Linked DNA regions of Homo sapiens: all the other regions are linked to region 1. Evidence: promoter capture Hi-C in 16 types of primary human blood cells and fetal thymus (Javierre and others, 2016). All regions are on one chromosome and are shown on one strand. Each heading gives the region's core, a stretch centred on a gene start or on the middle of the fragment in contact. The rest is flanking DNA. Distances are from core to core; before and after follow the strand shown. Region 1 holds the start of SRY (sex determining region Y). Region 2 has its middle 34 kb from the start of ZFY. Region 3 has its middle 37 kb from the start of RPS4Y1. Region 4 overlaps RPS4Y1 (ribosomal protein S4 Y-linked 1).

Region 1 (6,651 bases), core at 1,084-3,583:
AGACTGCGGCCCCGAAACTACACTTAAGAGTCCCTCGGGGCCCTGGCGGATGGCAGGCGTGATGAAGCGCCACACCGTGGTGGGCCGCAGGGTATCAGGTGTAGTGTGGCGGGGGCGGCGTCCTGCAGTGTGGCTGGGCGCAACTGGACGCTGTACCTCTCCATAGCCGCCTAGTCGCCGCTCTCCATCCTCGCTCCTGTGCGACGCCACTTTATCCCTCTTAAACTGGACGATTCAGTAGTACCGGGGAACGAAGGCAACAAGACCTAACCATAGCAACAACATTTTGTTTTTGAAACCCATCTTGCAACTGCCTGACTGCAAAATGTACTTGCAGATTCTGCAGACAAAAATTGCTGCCACTTATTAAAAGACTTCATAGTGAAAACTGACTTTTTACCCAAACCACTGATTCAAGGACTTTTGCGTAGAAACTCATGAACTGTTAAGATAACCCTTCATTACCAATTAAGATAATAGGTTGTAAGTAACCTAATGAGTACCAACTTTCTCTTATTTCCTTTAAAAACTGTCTCTCAAAACAGCCGGTCACGACACAATGTCAGATGCTTCTGGAATCTGTTTCTCTAATTACAGTTCTAAAACTGCCAACAAACTCCTTATTTGGACTTCAGTTTCTCTGACTCTTTGGTTCACCATGTTGTGCAGCCATCACCTCTCTCTAGTTCCAGAGCATATTTTATCAATCCTCAAAAGAAACCGTGCATCCACCAGCAGTAACTCCCCACAACCTCTTTCATCCAGTCCTTAGCAACCATTAATCTGGTTTTAGTCTCTATTCATTTGCCTTTCCTGGATATTTCATATACATGGGATCATTCAGTATCTGGCCTCTTGTATCTGACTTTTTCACACAGTGTAACATTTTCAAGGTTCACCTATGTGGTGCCTTGTGTCATTTTTTGCTATTTTCATGTCAGGTTTTGAAATGGTATGTTTTTTCTCATCTTGTAAGGGATTTCCTGTTGTAGAAAATCTGTTTCTGTGTATGACTGCAATTTAACCATTTTATTTGCTATCCAGATACATGTTTTAACTTGAGCCAACTATATTTCCACTTTGTATAATGAATACTAAATTTTGTATCTTAGATACTAAACTTTAGTAGATAACTAGGATACAAATTACAGTTTTCATATTTTTCTTTTCATGGAATATAATTTTTTAAAGTTTCTGATATTAATTCATTATAACATTTACTGGACAAACCAACCACATTTGGTTCTATGAACTCTTTTCATATTTTACGGGATTTTTATTTTGTTGTCTTAGGAATTGTGGCATCATTCAGTTTTGCTGAGAGTTTATTTTTATTAATAGGTTCTGTGTACTATGCAACCTGTAGTTGTTACTCCTGTTTTGCAAATATGGCATTAAAACATTGGTGAGTGGGGGGACTTTCCTCCCATTTTATTTCAGCAAAGAAATCTTGTCATTTCTCTTCAGACTTTAAGATTTATTGAGGAGAGTTATTCACTTGTTTAGTCTGGTAAACTGTGACCTTTAAATTTTGAAGGAGGTTGAACTAAAAGGTGAAATATGATAAATTGATGGCTCTATTTGTTGTGAATGGAAATTTAATTTAGACTTGTAAAAGATTGTTTTTTAAATTGCTAATTGTGTGACAGTGAAGAGAATGACTTCAAAATATCCCACTATACAATCTGCAAAGAAAAGAATTGTGTCCCCTTTTTAGTGTAGCTTAACACTTCACTGAAACTGTTTTGAGTTCTTAGGTCATATTTTTTTTTCTCTAAACGAAACAATTACTTTTCTAAAAGTCAAATGTTAGCCATCCTAGAAGTTGGGCATAAAATACTTGTAAGTATATGCTAATATTCTGATACTTAATGCCTGTGAAAAATGTGTATAGAATTTTCAATTTTTAAATAGAAGTGAAGAAAAAGCGATAATAATTACTATAAATTCAATATGCAGTTATGTATGTATGTGTGTGGTTAAGACAATTAGGTTCTCATTAAGCTTTGTTTTTTTAAAGATAACATACACATATATTGATAATGATAAACAATTCATATAGCTTTTTGTGTCCTCTCGTTTTGTGACATAAAAGGTCAATGAAAAAATTGGCGATTAAGTCAAATTCGCATTTTTCAGGACAGCAGTAGAGCAGTCAGGGAGGCAGATCAGCAGGGCAAGTAGTCAACGTTACTGAATTACCATGTTTTGCTTGAGAATGAATACATTGTCAGGGTACTAGGGGGTAGGCTGGTTGGGCGGGGTTGAGGGGGTGTTGAGGGCGGAGAAATGCAAGTTTCATTACAAAAGTTAACGTAACAAAGAATCTGGTAGAAGTGAGTTTTGGATAGTAAAATAAGTTTCGAACTCTGGCACCTTTCAATTTTGTCGCACTCTCCTTGTTTTTGACAATGCAATCATATGCTTCTGCTATGTTAAGCGTATTCAACAGCGATGATTACAGTCCAGCTGTGCAAGAGAATATTCCCGCTCTCCGGAGAAGCTCTTCCTTCCTTTGCACTGAAAGCTGTAACTCTAAGTATCAGTGTGAAACGGGAGAAAACAGTAAAGGCAACGTCCAGGATAGAGTGAAGCGACCCATGAACGCATTCATCGTGTGGTCTCGCGATCAGAGGCGCAAGATGGCTCTAGAGAATCCCAGAATGCGAAACTCAGAGATCAGCAAGCAGCTGGGATACCAGTGGAAAATGCTTACTGAAGCCGAAAAATGGCCATTCTTCCAGGAGGCACAGAAATTACAGGCCATGCACAGAGAGAAATACCCGAATTATAAGTATCGACCTCGTCGGAAGGCGAAGATGCTGCCGAAGAATTGCAGTTTGCTTCCCGCAGATCCCGCTTCGGTACTCTGCAGCGAAGTGCAACTGGACAACAGGTTGTACAGGGATGACTGTACGAAAGCCACACACTCAAGAATGGAGCACCAGCTAGGCCACTTACCGCCCATCAACGCAGCCAGCTCACCGCAGCAACGGGACCGCTACAGCCACTGGACAAAGCTGTAGGACAATCGGGTAACATTGGCTACAAAGACCTACCTAGATGCTCCTTTTTACGATAACTTACAGCCCTCACTTTCTTATGTTTAGTTTCAATATTGTTTTCTTTTCTCTGGCTAATAAAGGCCTTATTCATTTCAGTTTTACTGGTATTTCATTTTAAACTTAATTTCAAGACAAGTTGTGTCAACACGATTAACATGCAAAGAAATAAGACATCCAGAAGTGAGCCTGCCTATGTTTGTGGCCGTCAGAGTACTAACTTGATACAAACGGACACTGTGGCTTACTTTAAATGCTCTAATGAGAAACACACTTGAAAATTGTACCAAAAAAAATCACACTTCTATATGCAGCGTGTTAAGCAGTCCTCTCTAGACCGTGTATTCATTGGTCTTTCAGCTACTTTGTACGTGTCTATAAATTGCAGGTAACTAAGGAATGGATATGTAAGCAGGATCAAACTTGTTTCTTTCTCTCCCCTTCACGCTGTGGAAAAAACCAGTTTTACCTCCACTTGCAATTCAGTTCCTTTACTCCATATAAATCCAAACGGTTGACATTTCCTTTCAACTAGTTATAAAATGCCTCTGGTAAAACAAAATATTTAATTCCTTGTCATTTTTGTATCTCTATGAAACTTATCATTTTGCCTTTCTTCTGAAAACTATCTTTTAAAATGGCAATCTACTTGTTTCCATGGCCTATTAACTTTTAAGCCTGTGGAATGAAAAATACAGAATTTTCATTCTCAACAGGAATGTTGAGAACGCCGACTACCCAGATTATGGAGATGGAAGGGCGGGGGCTGGTGACCCAACTGGTTTAATTTGATGGGATTTAAATAAAAATGTAATGCCAAGACTTCATAAAATTTGCACATAAGCTAAAGCAGGAAACTAGAAGTTTACAAATAACTGTAAACCACAGTTTAAAGTATAAATTACAAATAAATTTTTCTACAATAAAAATAAATCAAAAGTCAAAATTAATGGTATGTATCAAAGTCAGCTTTCCAATATTTCAAAACTTTTCAGAGACATTACCTTAAATAATAAAACTCAAACACTAAAAGAGTGTATATTAGAGATGGATGTCATGTTTCTCAAAGTTCAGGGTTTAAAAAAAGCTTTATTCCAGAGACAATATTACTTAATCTGAGCTTTATGCCAAATGAGAACTGTATATTGCCCATTACCTTTTAAACACTGACTCAAAACTACTTTGTAATATTTAAAACCACTCTTTTCACTCTCCCAAAAATAACACCCATTCTGACCTTCATTACCATACATTAATTTTCCTTTTCTTGAACCTCTGACACAGATTCTCTGTTTGACCAAACTTTAGTCAGGTTTCTGAACCTTCTCCTAGACTCGCCTGTGCACTTCCTTGCCAAACTCAGTTTTGGCAAAGAACTCTCCTAAGCCAGGTTAGCCAGACTGTACCCCCACCGCATATCTGATCACACTCAACACTTGATCGATCACCCTCAATATCTGATCAGGTTTCTCATCCTCCACCACCCTCTAGGTGATGTCTGATCAGCCTAGCCTGTCTTCAGCAAGAATCCTCCTTATCTATGATGTCTTCTCTTAGTGATTGTCCATCCATTGACCCTACTCCCTGCTCCTTGGCTATAAATCCCCACCTACCCAGCTGTGTATGTGGAGCTAAGGCCAATCTCTCCCCCAGTGCAAGACCTCATTGCTGTGCTGTTGGTCGTGAATAGTCTTCCTTATCAAGTTTGAACAAGTATCACTGAATACCATTTTTCCTTAACAATGTGAATAAATATAAATACAAAATATTATGTGGAGCTTCTTTTGCTTAATACATTTTGGTGGTTTTCAGATTATTAAAAATTATGACATCATGCATGTATACATTTTGGAAAGACTAAATCAAGCTAATGTATCTACTACCTCATATACTTCCCTTTCCTTTTGCACTGGGAACATTTAAATTGTATTCTCTTAGCAATTTTCAAGCATACAATACATTCTTATTACCTATATTCAACATGCTTTACAATAGATCTGAACTAATTGCTTCTATCTAGATGAAATATTATAATTTTTGAATAACAATACTCATCTCTTCACCTGACCCTACTAGAGGGTAGCCACAATTCTACTCCCAAAAATATGAAAGACTTCACATTTGAATACCCTCCTGGCCCAGGGACAGTGTTATTCTTCTCCATACCATTCTAATTTTAGTGTATATGCTGCCCAAACTAGAATTTTTAAGAAAAAATTGTTGTGCGTATTTCATTCTATTTTTGTTGGACAAATGAATGGACACTTACTGGTTTCAATTATTACAAACAGTGCTTTTTTATACATTCTTATACATGTACAATGGAGAACATTTATAAGAATTTCTGTGAAGCACACTCCCAGGAGAGGAATTGATACTTTATGTATGGTTTACTTAGGAATTACTGAAATGAAGCATTTTTGTATTTTTGTGATGTTTAAACAAACATCAATAAACAAACAAATTCTAACTATAAGTATCAAGTGTGCTTTGGCTGCCAATGGATGTTTGCTATATTTTAAAATGCCAACACTTAAAATACATTAAGAGGGAGCTTGGTACTGAATAAAGAACACAGGCTCTGGAAGGTAAACCCTTCAGCTTTGGCTCACTTGAGTGCCACTTACAGGCTTGAGCTTGAACAATTTACTTCGCTGTCTGAGTCTCAGTTTTTTCAATTCTGTAATAATTTTGTTAGTTGAAATGCTATTTACTAATAAAACCAACCCATGAAGAGATGTGAAGGCTACATGAATTAAGGTACACAAGCATTAAATAAGTGAGTGTATATAAGAAATACTTAGAACAGGCTGGGAGCAGTGGCTCACGCCTGTAATCCCAGCACTTTGGGAGGCCAAGGTGGGTGGATCACGAGGTCAGGAGATTGAGATCATCCTAGCTAACATGGTGAAACCCCGTCTCTACTAAAAATACAAAAAATTAGCCAGGCTTGGTGGCGGGCGCCTGTAGTCCCAGCTACTTGGGAGGCTGAGGCAGGAGAGGGCTTGAATCCAGTAGATGGAGCTTGCAGTGAGCCAAGATGGCGCCACTGCACTCCAGCCTGGGCGACAGAGCAAGACTCCATCTCAACAAAAAAAAAAAAAAAAAAAGAAAAGAAAAGAAAAAAAGAAATACTTAGAACAGACATCAGCATTAGTGAAGAATTAACTAAATATTTGCTATTATTAACCTGAAAGTAATTGCTCCATCTAAAAAATATCTTAGTGAAGAGTAATGTAGATATTCATGATTGATTAGACATTATTTCATTAGGCATTGAAGTGGGTAATGTTTTTCCCAATGTCACGATTTTACTGATGTGAAATACATTAATTTTCCATATTTGTTCCAAATCTGTTCCACAAAGATTTGTTTCTACAAGGTGTAGAAACAAAAGGTAGTTATCAGAGTTCTAGTATTTCAAGAAATTTAATTAATATTTTATTTCATATTGGACTATGTAATAATGTCAAGAGTAAAAATCTTCATGAGATATTGTGCACAGATCTTTTATTTATAGATGCATGAACTTTGGCAAATGCATATGCCTGAGTAACTATCACCCCAACTAGGTTACAAGCTATTTACA
Region 2 (6,651 bases), core at 2,901-5,400, 110 kb before region 1:
AGAATTGTCTATCCATGTCCTTAACCCACTTTTTGATGGGATTGTTTTTTTCTTACTAATTTGTTTAAGTTTGTGGTAGATTCTGGATATTAGTATTTTGTCAGATGTATAGATTGTGATGATTTTCTCCCACTCTGTCAGTTATTTGTTTACTTTTCTGACTATTCCTTTTGCTGTGCAAAAGCTCTTTAGTTTAATTAGGTCTTAGCTATTTATCTGTGTTTTTATTGCATCTCCTTTTGGGTTCTTGGCCATGAAATCCTTGCCTAAGCCAATGTCTAGAAGGTTTTTCCAATGTTATCTTGTAGAAATTTTATAGTTTTAGGTCTTAGAATTAAGTTCTTAATCCATCTTCAGTTGATTTTTGTATAAGGTGAGAGATGAGGATCCAGTTTCATTCTCCTACATGTGGCTAGCCAATTATCCCAGAACCATTTGTTGAAAAGAGTGTCCATTCCCCACTTTGTGTTTTGTTTGCTTTGTTGAAAATCAGTTGGCTGTAAGTATTTGAGTTTATTTCTGAGTTCTCTATTCTATTCATCTATGTGCCTATTTTTATACTAATGTCACACTGTTTTGGTGACTATGACCCTTTTTTTTTTTTTTTTTTTTTTTTTGAGATGGAGTCTCACTCTGTTGCCCAGGCTGGAGTGCAGTGGTGTGATCTCAGCTCACTGCCAGCTCCGCCTCCTGGGTTCATGCCATTCTCCTGCCTCAGCCTCCCGGGTAGCTGGGACTACAGGCGCCCGCCACAATGCTTGGCTAATTTATTGTATTTTTAGTAGAGATGGGGTTTCACCATGTTAGTCAGGATGATCTCAATCTCCTGACCTCATGATCCACCCGCCTTGGCCTCCCAAAGTGCTGGGATTACAGGCGTGAGCTACCACGCCGGGCAACTATGACCTTATAGTATAGTTTGAAATCAGGTAGTGTGATGCCTCTAGATTTTTTGTTTTTGCTTAGTGTTGCTTTGGCTATGCAGGTTCTTTTTCAATTCCATAAGAGTTTTAGAATTGTTTTTTCTAACTCTGTGAAGAATGGTGGTCATATTTTGATGGGGATTTTGTTGAATTTGTAGATTGCTTTTGGCAGTGTGGTCATTTTCACAATATTAATTCTATCCATCCATAAGCATGGGATATATTTCCATTTATTTATGTTGTCTATGATTTCTTTTAGCAGTGTTTTGTAGTTTTCCTTGGTTTTTTTGAATCCTTGGTTAGGTATATCTTAAGTATCTTAATTTTTTTGCAGCTATTGTAAAAGGAGTTGAGTTCTTGATTTCATTCTCTGCTTCTTCGCTGTTGGTGTATAGAAGAGCTACTGATTTGTGTACATTAATCTTGTATCCAGAAACTTTGCAGAATTATTTTATCAGTTGTAGGAGCTTTCTGGAGGAGTCCTTAAGGTTTTCAAGGTAAATGATCATATCATCAGCAAACAGGGACAATTTGACTTCCTCTTTACCAATTTGGATCCCCTTTCTTTCTTTCTCTTGTCTGATTGCTCTGGCTAGGACTTCCAGTACTATGTTGAAGAGAAGTGGTGAGAGTGGGCATCCTTGTCTTGGGTTCCTGTTCTCAGAGGGAATACTTTCAACTTTTCCCCATTAGGTATTATATTGGTTGTGGGTTTGTCATAGGTAGCTTTTATTACATTAAGCTATGTCCCTTGTTTGTCAATGTTGCAGAGGGTTTTAATCATAGAGGGATGCCAGATTTTGTCAAATCTTTTTTCTGCACCCATTGAGATGATCATGTGATTTTTGTTTTTAATTCTGTTTATGTGGTGTATTTTTGCAGGATTCAGGAGAATGAAAGAGACCTTGGGTTAAAACAGCAGGATCTTTATTGAGTGCACTCAGGTCCAGCTGACTCACATCCCAAGACTGGGCCCAGCACAAAGACAGCATCTGACTTTTATATACACTTCACAAAAGGGGGCGGGCTAGCTTGAAGGAAGCTTACAGTGGCATAAAAGCAGGGGTTCAGAGGCAGGACAAAGACAGGACTGCACATGACCATTGCCAAGCAACCCAGATGTCCATTATCTAGGTTTGTCTGGGCATGGGCTTATCCTATAACCTTCACTGTGGTGCCCAGGCAGCTGTAGTTCAGGCCTACTCAGGCTTCTCATGACCTCCGTTGTACTTTTTAGATAAACAGAATACTTGAAGTCACTAGTTACAGAGAACAAGGATCTATAAACTCATTCCATAAAACAAAGGAAAATTTGTTTTTCTTCTCCCTATGTTGAGGGAGTGCTGGAGAGTCTCCAGAGCACATTAGGTAATATTATCAAGACTTTTCCTGGGTCTGGGCTGTGCCTGTTGCTGCCTCTGGGACAAATCAGCCTAATGCAGGAAAACTTATTTCCCTTTCTTTTTAATTTTATTTTTCTTTAATATCTTGCCTTAGTATCACACTTACTCACTTGTGTATGTTAAACCATCTCTGCATCCCTGGTATGAAACCCACTTGATCATGGTGGATTATTTTTTGCTATGTTGTTGGTTTCAGTTAGCTAGTATTTTGTTAAGGATTTTGGCATCTATGTTCATCAAGGATATCAGTCTGTAGTTTTCTTTTTTGGTTGTATCCTTTTCTGATTTTGGTATTAGGATGATGCTGGCTTCAATTAATGAATTGGGGAGGGTTTCTTCTTTCTCTATCTTGTGGAATAGTGTCAAAAGGAATTGTACTGATTCTTCTTTGAATGTCTGGTAGAATTCTGCTATGAATTTGTCTGGTCTTGGACTTTTTTTGGTTGGTAATTTTTAAATTACTGTTTCAACCTTGCTGGTTGTTGGTCTGTTCAGGGTATCAAATTTAAGGGTCCTGATTTAAGCTAGGAGGGTTATATTTTTCCAGGAATTTATGCATCTCTTTTAGGTTTTCTAGTTTATATGTGTAAGGGTGTTCATAATAGCCTTGAATGATCTTTTTTATTTCAGTGGTGTCAGTTGTAATATCTCCTGTTTTGTTTCACAGTGAGGTTATTTGGATTTTGTCTATTCTTTTCTTGATTAATCTTGTTTATGGTCTATCAATTTTACTTATCTTTTCCAAGATCCTGCTTTTTGTTTTATTTATCTTTTGTATCTTTTTTTTCTTTGTTTCAATTTATTTCTGCTCTTATCTTGGTTATTTCCTTTCTTCTGCTGGGTTTTGGTTTGGTTTGTTCTTGTTTCTCTAGTTCCTTGGGATGTGACCTTAGAATGTCAATTTGTGCTCTTTCAGACTTTTTGATGTCAGCATTTAGAGCTATCAACTTTCCTCTTAACACCACCTTAGCTATATCTCAGAGGTTTTGATAGATTTTGTCATTACTGTCATTCAGTTCGAAGAATTTTTTAATTTCCACCTTCATTTTTTTTGACCCAATGTTCATTCAGGAACAGGTTATTTAGTGTCCATGTATTTGCATTGTTTTGAAGCTTCCTTTTGGAGCTGATTTCCAGTTTTATTCCACCATAGTTTGAAAGAGTGCTTGATATAATTTCAATTTTCTTAAATTTATTAAGGCTCTTTTTATGGTCTATCATATGGTCTAATCTTGGAGAAAGTTCCATGTGCTTTTGAATAGAATGTGTATTCAGTAGCTGTTGGATGAAATATATTAAGTCCATTTATTCCAAGGCATAGTTAAATCCATTGTTTCTTTGTTGATTTTCTGTCTTGATGACCTGTCTGGTGCTGTCAGTGGAGTATTGAAGTTCCCCACTACTATTGTGTTGCTGTCTATCTCATTTCTTAGATCTATTAGTAATTGTTTTATAAATTTGAGAGCTCCAGTGTTCAGTGCATATATGTTTAGGATTGTGACATTTTCTTGTTGGACAAGGCTTTTTACCATTACATAATGTCTCTCTTTGTTTCTTTTTTTTTTTCTTTGAGACGGAGTCTCGCACTGTTGCCCGGGCTAGAGTGCAGTGGCGTGATCTCGGCTCACTGCAGCCTCTGCCTCCCGAGTTCAAGAGATTCTCCTGCCTCAGCCTCTAGTAGCTGGAATTACAGGCACCCACCACCACGCCCAGCTGATTTTTTTTTTTGTATTTTTAGTAGAGATGGGGTTTCACTATGTTGGCCAGGCCGGTCTCAAACTCCTGACCTCGTGATCAGCCTGCCTCCGCCTCCCGAAGTGCTGGGAGTACAGGCATGAGCCAGCATGCCCGGCCCTTCTTTGTCTCTTTTAACCACTGTTGCTTTGAAGTTTGTTTTGTCTAATATAAGAATAGCTACCCCTGGTCACTTTTGTTGTCCATTTGCATGAAATTACTTTTTCCACCCCTGTAAGTTTATGTGAGTCCTTATGTGTTAGATGATCTTCCTGAAGGCAGCAGATGATTGGTGAGCTCATATCCATTCTGCAGTTCTGTATCTTTTAAGTGGTGCATTTAGGCCATTTACATTCAATGTTATTATTGAAATGGCTTGGTAATGGCTAATTATCTCCACATTTGTTTGTCTGAAAAAGATTGTACCTTTCCTTCATATATGTTGCTTAGTTTCACTGGATACAAAGTTCTTGGCTGATAATTGTTTTGTTTGAAGAGGCTGAAGATTGGAGGCAGAAACCCTATAAGCCCTTCTAACTTGTAGGGTTTCTGTGGAGAATTCTGCTGTTAATCTGACAGTTTTTCCCTTGTAGGTTAGCTGGTGCTTCTGTCTCACAGCTTTTAAGATTCTTTCATTCATTTTAACTTTGGATAACCTGATGCAATGTGCTTAGGTGAAGACTTTTTTGTGATGAATTTTCCAAGTATTCCTTGTGCTTCTTTTATTTGCATGTGTAGGTCTCTAGCAAGGCTGGGGAAGTTTTCCTCGATTATTCCCTGAAATGTGTTTTCCAAGCTTTTAGAATTGTCTTCTTCCTCAAGAACACTGATTGTTCTTAGGCTGTTTAACATAATCCCAGACTTCTTGGAGGCTTTGCTCATATTTTCTTCTCCTTTTTTCTTTGTCTTTGTTGGATTGGGTTAATTTGAAGTCCTTGTCTTCAAGCTCTGAATTTCTTTCTTCTACTTGTTGCTTGGGGACCCAGTGAGCTCCCATGGACTTTCTGCTGCTTCCTCTATCCCTGTATTTTGCTTGGCTTGGCTCTCTAACTTGATTTAGCTCTAGGTAAAGTCAGAAACTGCTCTCCCACAAACAGACTTTCAGCTTCTCCAGTGGGGGCGTGTGTTCAGGAGAGGAGGGTCTCTCTTTCCCACTTCCACTGTTAGGACACTCACAGTATTTGGGGTGTCTCCTGGGTCCTACAGGGGCAGTCTTCTTCCTTCAGAGGGTCTGTGGTTCCTCTCGGGATTGCTGGTTTGTTCCTGCAGTCAATCTGGAGCTAAAATTTACAATGCAAGCCCCCGCATGCTGCTCTATCCGGATCTGCAATCTAGTCCTGCCTCCTGTCCACCACGATCCTGAAATCCACAAGTTCAGGATTTCAAGACCACCCAGGGCAACATGGAAAAACCCCTCTCTACAAAAAATACAGAAATGAGTATGGTGGCACATGCCTATAATCCCAACTACATGCCCAAGAGGTCAAGGATGCAGAGAGCTGAGATGGTGACATTGCACTCCAGCCTGGGTGACAAAGTGAGACTAATTTCAAAAACAAAAACCAAAAAACAAAGCTGCTTTTTTTGTTTTTAATTGAAATGCAGTCTCAGTATGTTGGCTGTGGCAGTCTAAAACTCCCAGCCTCAGGCAGCCCTCCTACCTCAGCCTCTCAAACTGCTGGTATTATAGGCTTGAGCCACCACCCCTGGCCTTCTTATTTAAACTATAGTAACAGTTTTGGTTTGGGCCCTTCGGCTCACTTCTACATGTCACCAGTAAGAGCCCAAAGGTTGGGTGTACCTGTACCAGAATGAACTACCAATGACAAATAAAGAAAATATCTTCCAAAGCACTATTTTCACCATTTGCATCTTTTCAAACAAGAAAATATATTAAAGAAAAAATGATTTGCATGTACTTCGAAATCATCACCTCTCAACTCACTCCATTCTCATATGAGAATTCATAGAATGAGTAGATGTACCTTGTGGCAAGCATAAAGTAAGTGTTCCATAAATGCTTTAGTAGCCATATTTTCAGGGTTAGGTTGCATTATAGGAATTCATTTTTAAAAAATTAAGATACAAGAGGCCGGGCACGGTGGCTCACTCCTGTAATCCCAGCACTTTGGGAGGCCGAGGTGGGCAGATCACCTGAGGTCCAGGATTCGAGATCAGCCTGGCCAACATGGTAAAACCTCCTCTCCACTAAAAACACAAAAATTAGCTGGGCGTGGTGGTGTGCACCTGTAATCCCAACTACTCAGGAGGCTGAGGCAGGAGAATTGCTTAAACCCAGTAGGTAAAGGTTGCAGTGACCTGAGATCATGCCACTGCACTCCAGCCATGGAGACAGAGTGAGACTCTGTCTCAAAAAAAAATTTAATTTAATTAATTAATTAATTAAGATACAGTTTACAAGCATTGTAAAATGTCATGTTCTGATATAGATGTACATTGTGAAATGCTTAAATTATATGAATCCTAATTAATGTGACATTTATGGGATGACTCCTAAGGCTCTGTGAGACCAGTAAAATCATATGCAAAACTGCTTGGCTTAATGTATTTATCCAGGGGGAAAACCACAC
Region 3 (6,651 bases), core at 3,068-5,567, 90 kb before region 1:
AGTTCAACTGACCCAGTCAGAAGCAGTTTTCCTCCTCCATCTTCAACTTCAGTTGGATCATCAGACCAAATTGCCACAGATCAACATGCTATTTTAAATCAGTTGACCAATATTCATATGCACTCTCATAGCAGCTACATGCAAACAAATGGACACATTGTGAATTTTGTTACAACCACAACTTCTCAATACCACATCACACCTCCCTTACAGAATAGCTTTTTGGGGCTGCCAGTGGAACAACTACTTTTCCAACCAGATATTTTGAGGTATCAGTCAATGAGGCTCCTTATCCTAACCTGCCACCAGCAGGCAACCAGTGGTTCCAAATGCCTATGACATTTGATACATCGGCTGCCTGTCTTTTCAGGCCATCTCATCAACCGTCTTCACTGGACAAATATCACCCTAATTACAACATATCTTCCACCAAAGGGGTAACAGATTATGCAGGACAACAGGGACTGAAATTTACATTGATAAAAAATTTTTAAATTCCTGCAATTCTCTTATTAAACAATAAAATTACATGTTTACCTTTATGGTTGCTTTTCCCTTATTTCTGAAAACAAGGTTAAGATTTCATAAAATGGTACTTTATTTCAGTGGTGGGCTATTATACTATTTTTACAACATATGTGGACTTTTTGATCATTCGACAGGAAATTTGACATGCCCCTTTGTAAGTTTATTTAGTTCTCTAAAGAGGAAAAAATAATAGAGTGCTTTAATCCATTTGCTGCTGCAACAACAGAATACCATTGACTGGGTAATTTGTAAAAAAAAACTCATTTTGCTCATGTTTCTGGAGGCTGGGAAGTCCAAGGGGCTGCATCTGGTGAGGGTTCCTTTACAACATGGCAGGAGGGCATCATACAGTGAAGGACTTGTGATAAACAGAAAATCAGGGCCAAACTCATCCTTTGATCCAAAGCCCACTCACACAATAACTAACTTATTCTCAAGATAATGCCATCGATCCAGTCATGATAGGTTGCACCCTCACAGCTAATCATTTCTTAAAGGTCCCACCTCCCAACACTATTACAATGGCTACAGAATTTCAATGTTAGATTTGGAGGGGACATTCAAAACCATGGCAGTGAGCAAGGGCAAAAAAAGGAACTGAAGCTAGCAAAAGGTAATAAGCAACTTCTCGAAGTCTGGCCTAAATCAAATGAGGGCCTAAATTAGGATGGCACAAAGGAAGGAACAAATGCACACATACACATGCACACACAAATAAAAACTCCGGAGAAAGCTTAACACACTATTTACTTCAGTATTTTCTCAGTTACATTTCCCTAGTTATTTTAAACTTGGATTTTAGTTGGCAAAGATCATCTTTATTACAGTTCATACCTAGCCAGCTCAGTAAACATGATCATCATTATTTGCATCATCACTTGAGTAACAAAGTTCACGTGATATTATACTCATGGACTGCATCACTGGCAGGACATGGTGGAATTTCACAGCTGGCATCAGCAAGGGCCATTTCTGACCTTCCGTCAAAGCATTCCAGCAGGTTTTTGCCTTTAATAACCTCCTGCAAGAGTCCACCTTTCACATTTTCCAATGCACATTTTCTTCTCTTTTTATTTATTTATTTGTTTTTTGAGACAGAGTCTCAGTCTGTCATCAGACCACAGTGCACTGGAGTGATCTCAGCTCACTGCATCCTCCACCTCTGGGTTCAAGTGATTCTCATGCCTCAGCCTCCCAAGTAGCTAGGGTTACAGATGTGCAGCACCATGCTGGGCTAATTTTTGTATTTTTATTAGAGACGGGGTTTCGCCATGTTGGCCAGGCTCTCCTGGCCTTAGGTGATCCACTCACCTTTGCCTCCCAATGTGCTGGGATAACAGCCATAAGCCAGCATACCTAGCCTCTAATGCACACTTTTATCACATTGGCTTCATGCTCCATCCAAACTCAGATTTAATTTCTTAAGTTGGCATTTAATACCTTCTAGATTTTGAGCCCAGGTCCTCAGGATGGCTGAATAAATCACTTCAAGATCTGACATTTGTCTACCTTTCAGCTTCATGTCTGTTTCACTACTGTTTATCTGGAGCAAGATTCAAACAAACCACTTTCGGCCATGCCCTTTCCCATCTTGTACCTTTTGCCCCATTTCTTTCCTGGAGATAAAAGACCCCCTCTCCCTCTTTGCCTACTTAAGACTCCTCCAGCACAGACATCACTCCTTCCAAGAGATGTTTCTTATCTATCACATTAATTTTCTTGTCTATCTGTCTGGGACACCCAGCAGTGACCTAACACAGTGACTGATATATATATGTATGTTTATATATATATATTTATTTATATATATGTATATATATATATATATTTATTTATATATATATATGTGTGTGTGTGTGTATCAGTAAATATTGACTATATGCTTAATCCCATTAAAATCTACTTTCATTGTCAAAAACAAACATTCATGGTGTTCAGCCATTACTTTTTCTCTTTGCTCTTCACCACAACCTTTCTTCAAGGGGTAGGCCAAAGCAGTGTTGGCTAGAGTTGGAACAATTTTGACTTAATGAAACTAGTGTCGCTGGTTATCAATTCAGCTATCAAGCTTTCTTTTTAGCTTCCAGTTATCTGACCACTATGCAAATGTGCACACTTTCGGCAATACCACCATAAAGGCTTCTTTCCTTTTATCTCATTGAAATGTGTTGATTTTCCCCTGCCTCTTCTAAAATTTCTTTTCTATCTTCTGCTTTGACTGGCAGGTCCTTGCCTGAAAGAACTAGCTGCATACTTACCATGCCTTCCTTTATTTGCAGCAAAGATTCCCAGTTGTTGTGCTGAAATGGATTACACTGGGGATTCCAGCTATGCAACTTTTCAGAAGCAGCAGAGTGGATTTTGTATACTGTAAAACTGCTGGTGTCACAAGCTAAAGCCTGACAAGATTCATCACTCAGCTTTCTGGAAAAGCTGAAGTTGGGATGGTGTATGGATTTGTACAGCCAGATTTCTCAGGCTGGAAACCTACTGCTGCCATTTGACCATATGCATATATTTTCAAATTGCACCTAAGTAGGAAAAGTTTGGAATGAATAATCCATGATCTATACAGGGAATCCTGATTCCTTATGCTGGCATACCATGACACAAAACAATGGTCATTTCACCTATGTCCACATGCCATTAAAATATAATACCACTTTTTAGTTTCCTTTTCTTTTTTTTTCTTTTCTTTGAGATGGAGTCTCACTCTGTTGCCCAGGCTGGAGTATAGTGGCACAATCTCCACTCACTGAAACCTCTGCCTCCCAGGTTCAAGCGATTCTACTGCCTCAGCATCCCAAATAGCTGGGACTACACGTACAAGGAAAAAGCCTGGCTAATTTTTGTATTTTTAGAGATGGGGTTTCACCATATTGGCCAGGCTGTTCTTGAACTACTGACCTTAGGTGATCCACCCACCTCAGCCTCCCAAAATACTGGGATTACAGGGATGAGCCACCATGCCCGGCCCACTTTTTAGTTTTCAAACTGCATAGGGTACTGTAGTAAACATGATTAAATGTTGAAGATGATTTTTTTTTTTTACAAAAAAAAGTCTGATGCCTAAAAGGATGAAAAGTGAACAGACTAACTTGGGTAAATACCAGGGGAACAAAGAAAAAAGAAAATCAAATTTTAGAAGAAGCAGGAGAAAGTAATGAGAGGATGGAAAAGGATGGGTTAAATGTGGAATACAATATTGTAAGGTTAAGGCAAGTGTCACACAAACAGCAACGGCAACAACATAACAAATGCAGGGAGGGGGAGACGAGGGGGAAGGAGGAAAGAGTAAACAAATGCAAAAAATAGTGGTCAACATGATTAGAATATGTGTCCTCAACCTCTGCAAACTCTTTATGTTCTGAGCAGTTTACCTTAGAAACTATCTTAGCTTCCTCTAAGATTCAAAGACACTGTACCTCCTTTTTTTTTTTCTTTAGATGGAGTCTTGCTCTGTCGCCCAGGCTGGAGTGCAGTGGTGCTATCTCTGCTCACTGCAAGCTCCGCCTCCAGGGTTCACGCCATTCTCCTGTCTCAGCCTCCCGAGTAGCTGGGACTACAGGCGCCCGCCACGATGCCCAGCTAATTTCTTGTATTTTTAGTAGAGATGGGGTTTCACTGTGCTAACCAGGATGGTCTCGATCTCCTGACCTCATGATCTACCCGCCTCAGCCTCCCAAAGTGCTAGGATTACAGGCGTAAGCCACCAAGCCCGGCCTTTTTTTTTTTTTTCTTTTTCTTTTTTGAGATGGAGTCTTGCCCTATCATCCAGGCTGGAGTTCAGTGGTATGATCTTAGCTCACTGCAACCTCCACCTCCCAGGTTCAAGTGATTCTCATGCCTCAGCTTCCTGAGTAGCCAGGATTACAGGCCTGCACCACCATGGGGATTACAGCCCTGCACCACCATGGCCAGGTAATTGTGTGTGTGTATTTTTAGTAGAGATGGGGTTTCACCACGTTAACCAGGCTGGTCTCAAACTTCTGACCTTGAGTGATCCACCTCCTTGGCCTCCCAAAGTGCTGGGATTACAGCCGTGACCCACTGTGCCCAACTGACACTGTACCTTGTAAAGTAGTCTGTCCCTATTTAGGTTAAATTCGTTGAAAGTTGTAGGGACCAGCCCCACAGGGTTGGTGGGTTTTCTCCTCATGTGCAGAGACAAGACAGTGTAGAAATAAAGACACAAGACAAAGAGATAAATGACAGCAGGGGACCACTACCACCAAGATGCGGAGACTGGTAGTGGCCCCGAATGCCAGGCTACACTGATATTTATTGGATACAAGACAAAGGAGCAGGGTAAGGAGTATGAGCCATCTCCAATGATAGGTAAGGTCACGTGGGTCACATGTCCACTGGACAGGGGCCCTTTCCTTTCTGGCAGCCAAGGCAGAGATAGAGAGGAGAGAGAGACAGCTTACGCCATTATTTCTGCTTATCAGAGACTTTTAGTACTTTCACTAATTTGCTACTGCTATCTAAAAGGCAGAGCCAAGTGTACAGGATGGAACATGAAGGCGGACTAGGAGCATGACCACTGAAGCACAGCATCACAGGCAGAGGGTTAGGCCTCCGGATAACTGCGGGCGAACCTGGCTGATGTCAGGCCCTCCACAAGAGGTGGAAGAGCACAGTCTTCTCTAAATCCCCCAGGGAAAGGGAGACTCCCTTTCCCAGTCTGCTGAGTAGCAGGTGTTTTTCCTTGACACTGACGCTACTGCTAGACCAAGGTCTGCTTGGCAATGGGCATCTTCCCAGATGCTGGCATTACCACTAGACCCAGGAGACCTCTGGTGACCCTGTCCGGGCATAACAGAAGGTTTGCACTCTTGTCTTCTGGTCACTTCTCACTACATCTCCTCAGCTCCTATTTCTGTATGTCCTGGTTTTACCTAGGTTATGATTACAGAGCGAGGATTATTATAATATTGGAATAAAGAATAATTGCTACAAACTAATGATTAATGATATTCATATATAATCATATCTAAGATCTATATCTAGTATAACTATTCTTATTTTATATATTTTATTGTACTGGAACAGCTTGTGCCCTTGGTCTCTTGCCTCGGCACCTGGGTGGCTTGCCATCCACAGAAGTGTTTTAACAGCAAAAATTACTTTGAATTTTCTGCCCAAAAGGAACAGTACAAATGTTCTGCATCTTCAGTCATCACTTAAGTAATAAAATAGATGGAGCAAATGTACTTTTCCATCATACCATGAATACAATTAATATCCCTGGGTGTTATAACTAAAACAAGCATAAGACTTTGAAAATTGGAGCAAAGAGGTAAACTGCTGAGGGAACTTAAGACCCAGCAAATGATAAAAAGGATGAGTTCCCTGGATTTTGTTTTGGCTTCATGTTATCACATAGTTGGTCCTGAAGGAGCTGGTACCCAAAAATGTAAAGAGGCACAGACAAAAATGTTCTCACAAGCCCGCCTTCTCTAGCCACAGGGCTAGGAAAAAGACATCTTACTAAGACAAAAAGCTTTTATACAATAGCCACCCTACTTTAGCCAAACAACACACACAAAACAAGGCAAAACAAAAAACCTACCCAAGCCAACAAAGTCCAAGTGCAAACATCCATTCTATAGGCAGTAATGAAGCACCCCAACCCTCTGCTGGAGTGGAATCAGAGAAGACAGCATAGAGAACTAGAGTTTTCGTGGTAATAAGACATCCTTCCCTAGGAGGTGCAAGTAAGGCCTTGTGTGACACTGGAAACTGCATATTCGTTTATCAGTAATGAGGAGCCTTACCTTGGGTGTCAAAGGAAATGAGGAAGGGAATTTGGAATTGTGCATCTACTAGACAAGCACACCCTTTCCTCTATTAGGGTGGTATTAGATAAAATCAGCTAAAAATGAACATCATAATAAGGTCCAGAGTCTCCTAACAGTCCCCTAAATGTTCAAGTTTCAAATAAAAATCACTCATAAAAATCAAGCAATAGGAAAGCCTCCACCTCAAAGAAACAACATGATAAATGTCAATACAGAAATGTCAGTGTTATCAGGAATATCTGAGAAAGATTCCTAAACTGCCATCATAAAAATAATTAAATGAAGAATTATGAACATGCTTAAAACTAATGAACAAGTA
Region 4 (6,651 bases), core at 1,052-3,551, 71 kb before region 1:
ACATAGGGAAGACTGGAAGAGATGGCTGTTTTTCTTTAGAAAAATAAGCCTAAAGAAACGATGATGTATGAGTTACCAGACAAAAAATTCAAGCTAACCATCTTAAAGATGCATATCAAACTAAGGAAACAGCTACAAACAAAATCAGAAAAACAACCCATAAACAACATGAGAATTATCAACAATGTAAAGGAAACCCACAAAAAAGGATCAAACTCTGGAACTGAATACAATTGAACAGAATTTAAAAATCACAGGTCCAGAAAGAATCTGCAAACTTGAAGACAGGCCACTGAAATTAACAAGTCAGAGGCGCAAAAAGGAAAAAAGAAAAATAAAGGTGAGCCTAAGAGAGGGAGTAGCAGACACCATCAAGAGGAACAATATACAAACTACAAGAGTCCTAGAAGGAGAAAAGACAGAAACAGAGAAAATGAGAACAGGATTTGGGGGAAAGACAGGGAGGGGCAAAAAGCCTACTAGAAGAGAATAATGGCCCAAACTCCCCAGTTGTGTGAAAGAAGATGGACATACAAATTCAAGAAGCTGAACTCCAACTAGGATAAGCCCAAAGCATCAAGAGACAATATAATCAAACTCTCAAGAGTCACAAAGAAAGAATCTTGGAAGCAGCAAGTAAAAAGTGACTCATCATTTACAAGGGAGCTCTTGCTAGATAAGCTATAACTCTGCAATCCAGAAGACAGTGGGATGACATATTCAAAGTGCTTAAACCAAGTGACAACGAAGAGTCTAACTATAAAAGAGCCAAATATGAGCGACCATGGCCCATGACACAACCCTCAAGAGGAGGCCCTGAGAACATGTAACCAAGGTGGTCAGGGCACAGCTTGGTTTTATACATTTTAGAGAGGCATGAGGCATCAATCAAATACATTTAAGAAATACACTGGTTTGGTCAAGAAAGGGCAGGGTTGGGGGGTTATCAGGTCCAGTCTATTGGTGAATTTAAACATTTTCTGGTTGACGGTTGAGTTTGCCTGGGATTGGTAAGAAGGGAAAGGGAATGCTCAGGTTAAGATAAAAGATGATGGAGACTGAAGTTCTTCTGAAGTCTTAGGGAAGTGGTTGCCCTTAGAGACAATAAATGACCAATGTTTCTTATTCAGATTTTAGTTTATCTCTTTAGGATTGGGAGGGTCTGGAAGAAAAAGATTTATCTATTTTAATAGAGATTCTTTACAGATGCAGATTTCTCCTCCACTCCCACGAAGAGCAGCTTTGCAAGTCCATTTCAAAATATGGCAAACATGTTTTGGGGTAAAATATTTTTATTTTCTTCATTGTCTCGTAATGTTATCCCAGAGTCAGACTGGAAAGTAAGTCATGAAATATAGGGTTAAATAAAACCCATCTGATGATGAGTCATGCTCATTTGTAGGGCGTAACTCTCCAGATCCCTTAGATAGGGATTTGGGTAAGATAATCATCAGGGTTTAGTCCTCACAAGAATACCATAACTTTCAAAATGAAAGAAAAAATAAGACCTTCCAAGGTAAGCAAAAGCCACTAGGCTGGCCTTACGAGAAATGCTGAAGAAAAGCACTTCAGGATGAAACAAAAGGATGTCAGACACAAAACCATATGAAAAAAAGAAAGAAAGAAAGAAAATATAAAGCTTTCTGATAAAGGTAAATATACAGACAAATAGAGAATCCTAGATCACAAAGGTGTATAAATCACTTTTAAGTCTGGTATAGAACTTAAAACACAAAAGCACATCAATAACCATAAACCAATGGTAAAAGGATACACAATAGAAAAACATTCATGTGTGCCATCAATAACAAAATTTGTCTGAGGGGATATGGAGATGCAACTGAAGGTAACAGTTGAAAACAGACTGTTTTCACTTTAAGATAATTTATGTAATCCCCTTGGTAACCACAAAGAAAATAACCATGGAAGACACACAAAATCAGAAAGGATTCAAAGTGTTCTTTTATTTTTTGTCACTATAAAAAGTAAAGAGCAGCAGAGCACAAAAAGGCAGGTAATAAGGGAGAAAAAATAGGTATAAAATAGCTACAGAACATACTGAAAATAATTAACAACAGAGCTATACTAACTAATGCCTTCCTTAACAGCAACTATTTTGACTGTAAAACAGATTAACTCCTCACCCCAATCTAAGGACACAGACTAGCTAAATGAATAAAACCAGCCAACCAACCAGTCAAGTTACAACTATATGCTGTTAACAAAAGACCGGTTTCAGATTTAACGACACACACAGGCTGAAAGTGAAGTGCTGAAGTTGATGTTCCAGGCAAATAGTAAGCAAAAGAGAGCAGGGGTGACCAAACTTGGGTCAGACAAAATAGACTATAAGTCAAAAATTGTCACACAAGACAAGGCAGCTCAAAAATGCTTATGTTACAACAGAAGAAAGACCTCAAATGAATAGCCTAACTACATTACAAGGAACTAGAAAAACAGAATAAACCCAAGGTTGGCAGAAGGAAGAAAATTAAATAAGACCAGAGCAGACATAAAAGAAAAAAACAGTAAGAAAAAAGAAAAAAAACTAAGGGTTGATATTTTAAAACAGATTAACAAAAACTGACAAAACCGAAGTTGAGCATGGTTGACTCACTTGGATAACACACTTCCTAATTTGAAAACAAAATACAAAATGACAGTAATTCAACAGTGTGATACTGGCATAAAAGACAGGCAAACAGACCAAAGGAAGAAAATAGAGCCCAGAAATAAACCCAAGCATATATGGCCAAATGATCTTCAACAAGGGTGCCCAGACCTCTCAATGGAGAAAAGACAGTCACTTCAACAAGTGGTGCTGGTAAATCTACGTCCCCATGTAAAGAAACAACATGAGAATACCTTACATTACACCATATACAAAAACCAGCTCTAAACAGATTAAACGTAAGGCCTTGAACTGTAAAGCTCCAAAGACAAACACAGAGACCACAAGCTTCATGACATAAGAGATATAATTTCCTGGACATGACACCAAAAGCAAAACCTGACAAATTTAAAAATGCCTGCCAACCAAAAGAAACAATCAGTAAGGGTGAAAAGGCAACCTATGGAATGGGAAAAAACATCCACAAATCTTACATCTGATACTATCTAAAGATGTCCTACAACTCCACAATACCAGAAACAACCTAGCTAAATACTGGACAAAGGACATGAATAAAACCTTTCTCCAAAGACATACAAACACTCAAAAAGATGTTCAACATCTCTACTCATCACAGAACTCCAAATTTAAAAAAATAATAATGAGATATGACCTCATACCTACCAGGATAGCCACGAGAAAAAAAAAAAGAAAATATATAAAAAGCAAACAACAGCAAAGTGTGGGAAGGAATGTGAAGAAACTGAAATTCTTCTACACTGTTGGTAAGAATGTAAAATGGCAAGGCTGCTATAAAAAAACCGCACAATGGTTTCTCAAAAATTTCAAAACTATCTCATCCAGCAATGCCACTTCTAAGTGTGTATACAAAAACATCCAGCAGGATCTGGAAGAGTTGTCTGCACCGCTGTGTCCCCAGCAGCATTACTCACAGTAGCCAAGAGGTGGAGACAACCCAAATGTCCATCCACAGAGGAATGGATAAACAAAATGTGGTATACACACCCAACTGAGTATTACTCTGCCTTAGAAAGAGGAAGGAAATACTGGCCAAGTGCGGTGGCTCACGCCTGTAATCCCAGCACTTTGGGAGGCCAAAGAGGGTGGATCACCTGAGGTCAAGGGTTTTGACTCCAGCCTGGCCAACATGGCGAAACCCCATCTCTACTAAAAATACAAAAATCAGCTGAGTGTGGTGATGGGTGCCAGAAATCTTAGCTACTCAGGAGGCTGAGGTAGGAGAATCACTCGAAACCAGGAGATGGAGGTTGCAGTGAGCGGAGATAAAGTCACTGCACTCCAGCCTGGGCGACAAGAGTGAAACTCTTTCAAAAAAAGAGGAAAGAAATACTTTCACATGCCACAACATGGATGAACCCTGAGGACATGACGCCAAGCAAAGTTAACTAGTCGAAAAGGACAAACACTATCAATTCCACTTATTAAGACACCACCCAAAAGAGTCAAATTCACAGAAGCAGAGTGGTATGGTGGTTGTCAGAGGTTGTAGAAAGGAGAAAGTGGCAAAGTTGGTTAAAGCACATAGTTTCAGTTTAACAAGATGAAAGAGTTCTGGAGATCTGCCACATAAGAATGTGAATATAGTTAACAACACTAACGAACTGTACACTTAAAAATGGTTAAGGTGGTAAATCTCTGACGTATCTTTTTTTTTTTGAAACCACAATTAAAAATTATTTAAGCATTTAAAACCAAACAAACCAAGAACTACAAAAAAACCTTTGCCCTCACTCAGTGGGTTTCTTGTTACTAGGAATATTGGCTTTGTCATTCTGAGATTATTTTATGTACACTCCCAGGACTAAACTAAGTAAACTAGTAAGTAATAAACAAATAAGCAAAAAAATTAATACCAAGCATGTTTGTGTAAGACAAAGGGATATATATTTCAAATAAAGTTAGGGCCAGGGCGGTCGCTCACACCTGTAATCCCAGCACTGTGGGAGGCCGATGCAGGTGGATCACCTGAGGTCAGAAGTTTGAAACCAGCCTGACCAACATGGTGAAACCCTGTCTCTACTTGGGAGGCTGAGGCAGTAGAATCACTTGAACCCAGGAAGCGGAGGTTGCAGTGAGCCGAGACTGTACCACTGCACACCAGCCTGGTCAACAGAGCAAGACTGTCTGAAAGCAAAATGAAACAAAACTCCCCCAAAAACAAAACAAAACAAAAACAAACAAGTTAGGTGGGGGAGAAAAAAAAATCTGTTGAATTTTAACTGGGAATTTGATTTAATAAACAAATGAGATACAACATATCATTTCATTGGAGATAAGAAGTCCACATCCATTTTAAAAATTATTCTCGGCTGGGCACGGTGGCTCACGCCTGTAATTCCAGCACTTTGGGGCGCCAAGGTGGGCGGATCACAAGGTCAAGAGATCAAGACCATCCTGGCTAACATGGTGAAACCCCGTCTTTACTAAAAATACAAAAATTAGCCGGGCATGGTGGCAGGCACCTGCAGTCCCAGCTACCTGGGAGGCTGAGGAAGGAAAACGGCGCAAACCTGTGAGGTGGAGCTTGCAGTGAGCCAAGATCGTGCCACTGCACTCCAGCCTGGGCGACAGAGCAAGACTCTATCTCAAAAAATTAAAAAAAAAATTATTCTCAAAGGTATGCAAACGTTTGAGAGACAAGCATAAGATGCTCCTACCTACCCACTCTCCAGCTTCGTAACATTTTTAAACTCCTGGCCAGCTTTGATTCATCTTTACCTATGCAGTCCTGCGCTGGATCACTTAGAAACAAATGGCCAGTACCAAATCATTAGAACCTGAAATATTCTCACAAGCCACTCGAAAATCTAAGTAACTCCGCAAATGTTTCTTAAGTGTGTTCCAATATATACATTTTTTCCTTTGTCCCTTTACCCAAGTTTGTCTTCATTCTTTGACAAGAATACTTCCTGAATGTAAGTATTCCTGCTATTACTTCCTGCTATTACTAGGAGGTGCATGATATCTGGTTATCTCTGTGGTCACACTGAAATCAAACAACAGGTTTAGGTATCACAAGCATGACACATCCTGTTTAATATCCCCTCTCAATATTTTCCCCTAATGGGAAGCCCTCTCAACTTTCACAGCGAAGAAACAAACATTCTTGGCTAAAATTTTCAGGTCAACAGTAAATAACAGAAGTGCAGGCAGCACAGGTACAAGGTCATAGTGGTCAAACAATCAGACAACCCTAGCCTGTGGAGTACTCAACTCAAGACAGCCAGCCTAGGTTCAAACACCAAGGCAACTGAGGACTTTGGCTAGGTCTTAAATCAGAGTCCAAGTGAGGACTGCGGGGGTGCCATAAGCAGGTAAACAGGGAGGGCAGATAAGCAACAGAACAAAATCAAAAAAAGCAACAGAAAAAAAGTCACTGAAGAATGGCACAAAAGGAGTTGCCATTGTTTGTTGTCCCTGACCTATTCTTTCAGTGTTTCTGCATGTCTAAAAATTTCTGTTAAAACAAGTCAGGCAAAATATTTTACTTCCTTAGCTGATCAGGTATTAGCAAGCACTTGGGTATAAACCTGTCAGGAGTCAGAGCCTGAGGTGTAGGGAGGAGAAACAAAGCTGTAGACACATCTTTTTCTCATCACTAGCTTAAGATTATCTGGACAACTTCAGCCCTTCACCTCAAGGAACACAGCTAAACTTTATCGCATTTAAAACAAAGTTCCCCTCTTCTGACAAACAGAATGGACACAGAGTTTACATAGCTATGGTTTACATTCTTGAATGAGGCTGGGCTACTGGAGATAGCCCAAAGGGACATCACACCTCTACTCAACATCAAGAACCCACTGCAAACCCAAGAGACCATGACACAATATGCTCTTAGAGAAAACCAAATGTGTTTTAGTTCTCTCTAATCATAATGGGTGTACAGACAAAACAGAAGAATAAAATAGAAAGAAAAAGAAAAGACAAAGAGGGAGGTGGCAGACAACACAAGGGAAAAAAAAAACTTACCTGTATCAAATTTGATAAAGTTGATT

The links. The method cuts DNA at HindIII sites, captures the fragments that hold promoters and counts their contacts. A CHiCAGO score of 5 or more calls a contact.
Region 2: a fragment that was not itself captured here is called in contact with the fragment with the promoter of SRY in region 1 in 7 of 17 cell types (total CD8 T cells, M1 macrophages, M2 macrophages and 4 more); the score reaches 8.0 in total CD8 T cells.
Region 3: a fragment that was not itself captured here is called in contact with the fragment with the promoter of SRY in region 1 in 5 of 17 cell types (M1 macrophages, total CD8 T cells, neutrophils and 2 more); the score reaches 8.7 in M1 macrophages.
Region 4: a fragment that was not itself captured here is called in contact with the fragment with the promoter of SRY in region 1 in 8 of 17 cell types (M1 macrophages, M0 macrophages, non-activated CD4 T cells and 5 more); the score reaches 10.0 in M1 macrophages.

What each region holds. Positions count from the first base shown.
Region 1 is chrY:2,783,364-2,790,014 of GRCh38, reverse strand. It overlaps SRY (sex determining region Y), which reads left to right and starts at 2,333. Exons shown (of 1, transcript NM_003140.3): 1 at 2,333-3,160. The coding sequence starts at 2,412. The coding sequence ends at 3,026. It also overlaps the pseudogene RNU6-1334P and the pseudogene RNASEH2CP1. RefSeq lists promoters at 2,002-2,315, 341-2,315, 1-2,411. The HindIII fragment of the contact is 2,145 bases long and covers 2,007-4,151 here.
Region 2 is chrY:2,898,438-2,905,088 of GRCh38, reverse strand. No RefSeq gene overlaps it. Among named protein-coding and RNA genes, the nearest start is that of ZFY, 34 kb to the left of the region's middle. The HindIII fragment of the contact is 1,417 bases long and covers 3,442-4,858 here.
Region 3 is chrY:2,875,451-2,882,101 of GRCh38, reverse strand. It overlaps the pseudogene HSFY3P. Among named protein-coding and RNA genes, the nearest start is that of RPS4Y1, 37 kb to the right of the region's middle. The HindIII fragment of the contact is 3,438 bases long and covers 2,599-6,036 here.
Region 4 is chrY:2,854,746-2,861,396 of GRCh38, reverse strand. It overlaps RPS4Y1 (ribosomal protein S4 Y-linked 1), which reads right to left. Exons shown (of 7, transcript NM_001008.4): 5 at 6,626-6,651. Among named protein-coding and RNA genes, the nearest start is that of RPS4Y1, 16 kb to the right of the region's middle. The HindIII fragment of the contact is 1,320 bases long and covers 1,642-2,961 here.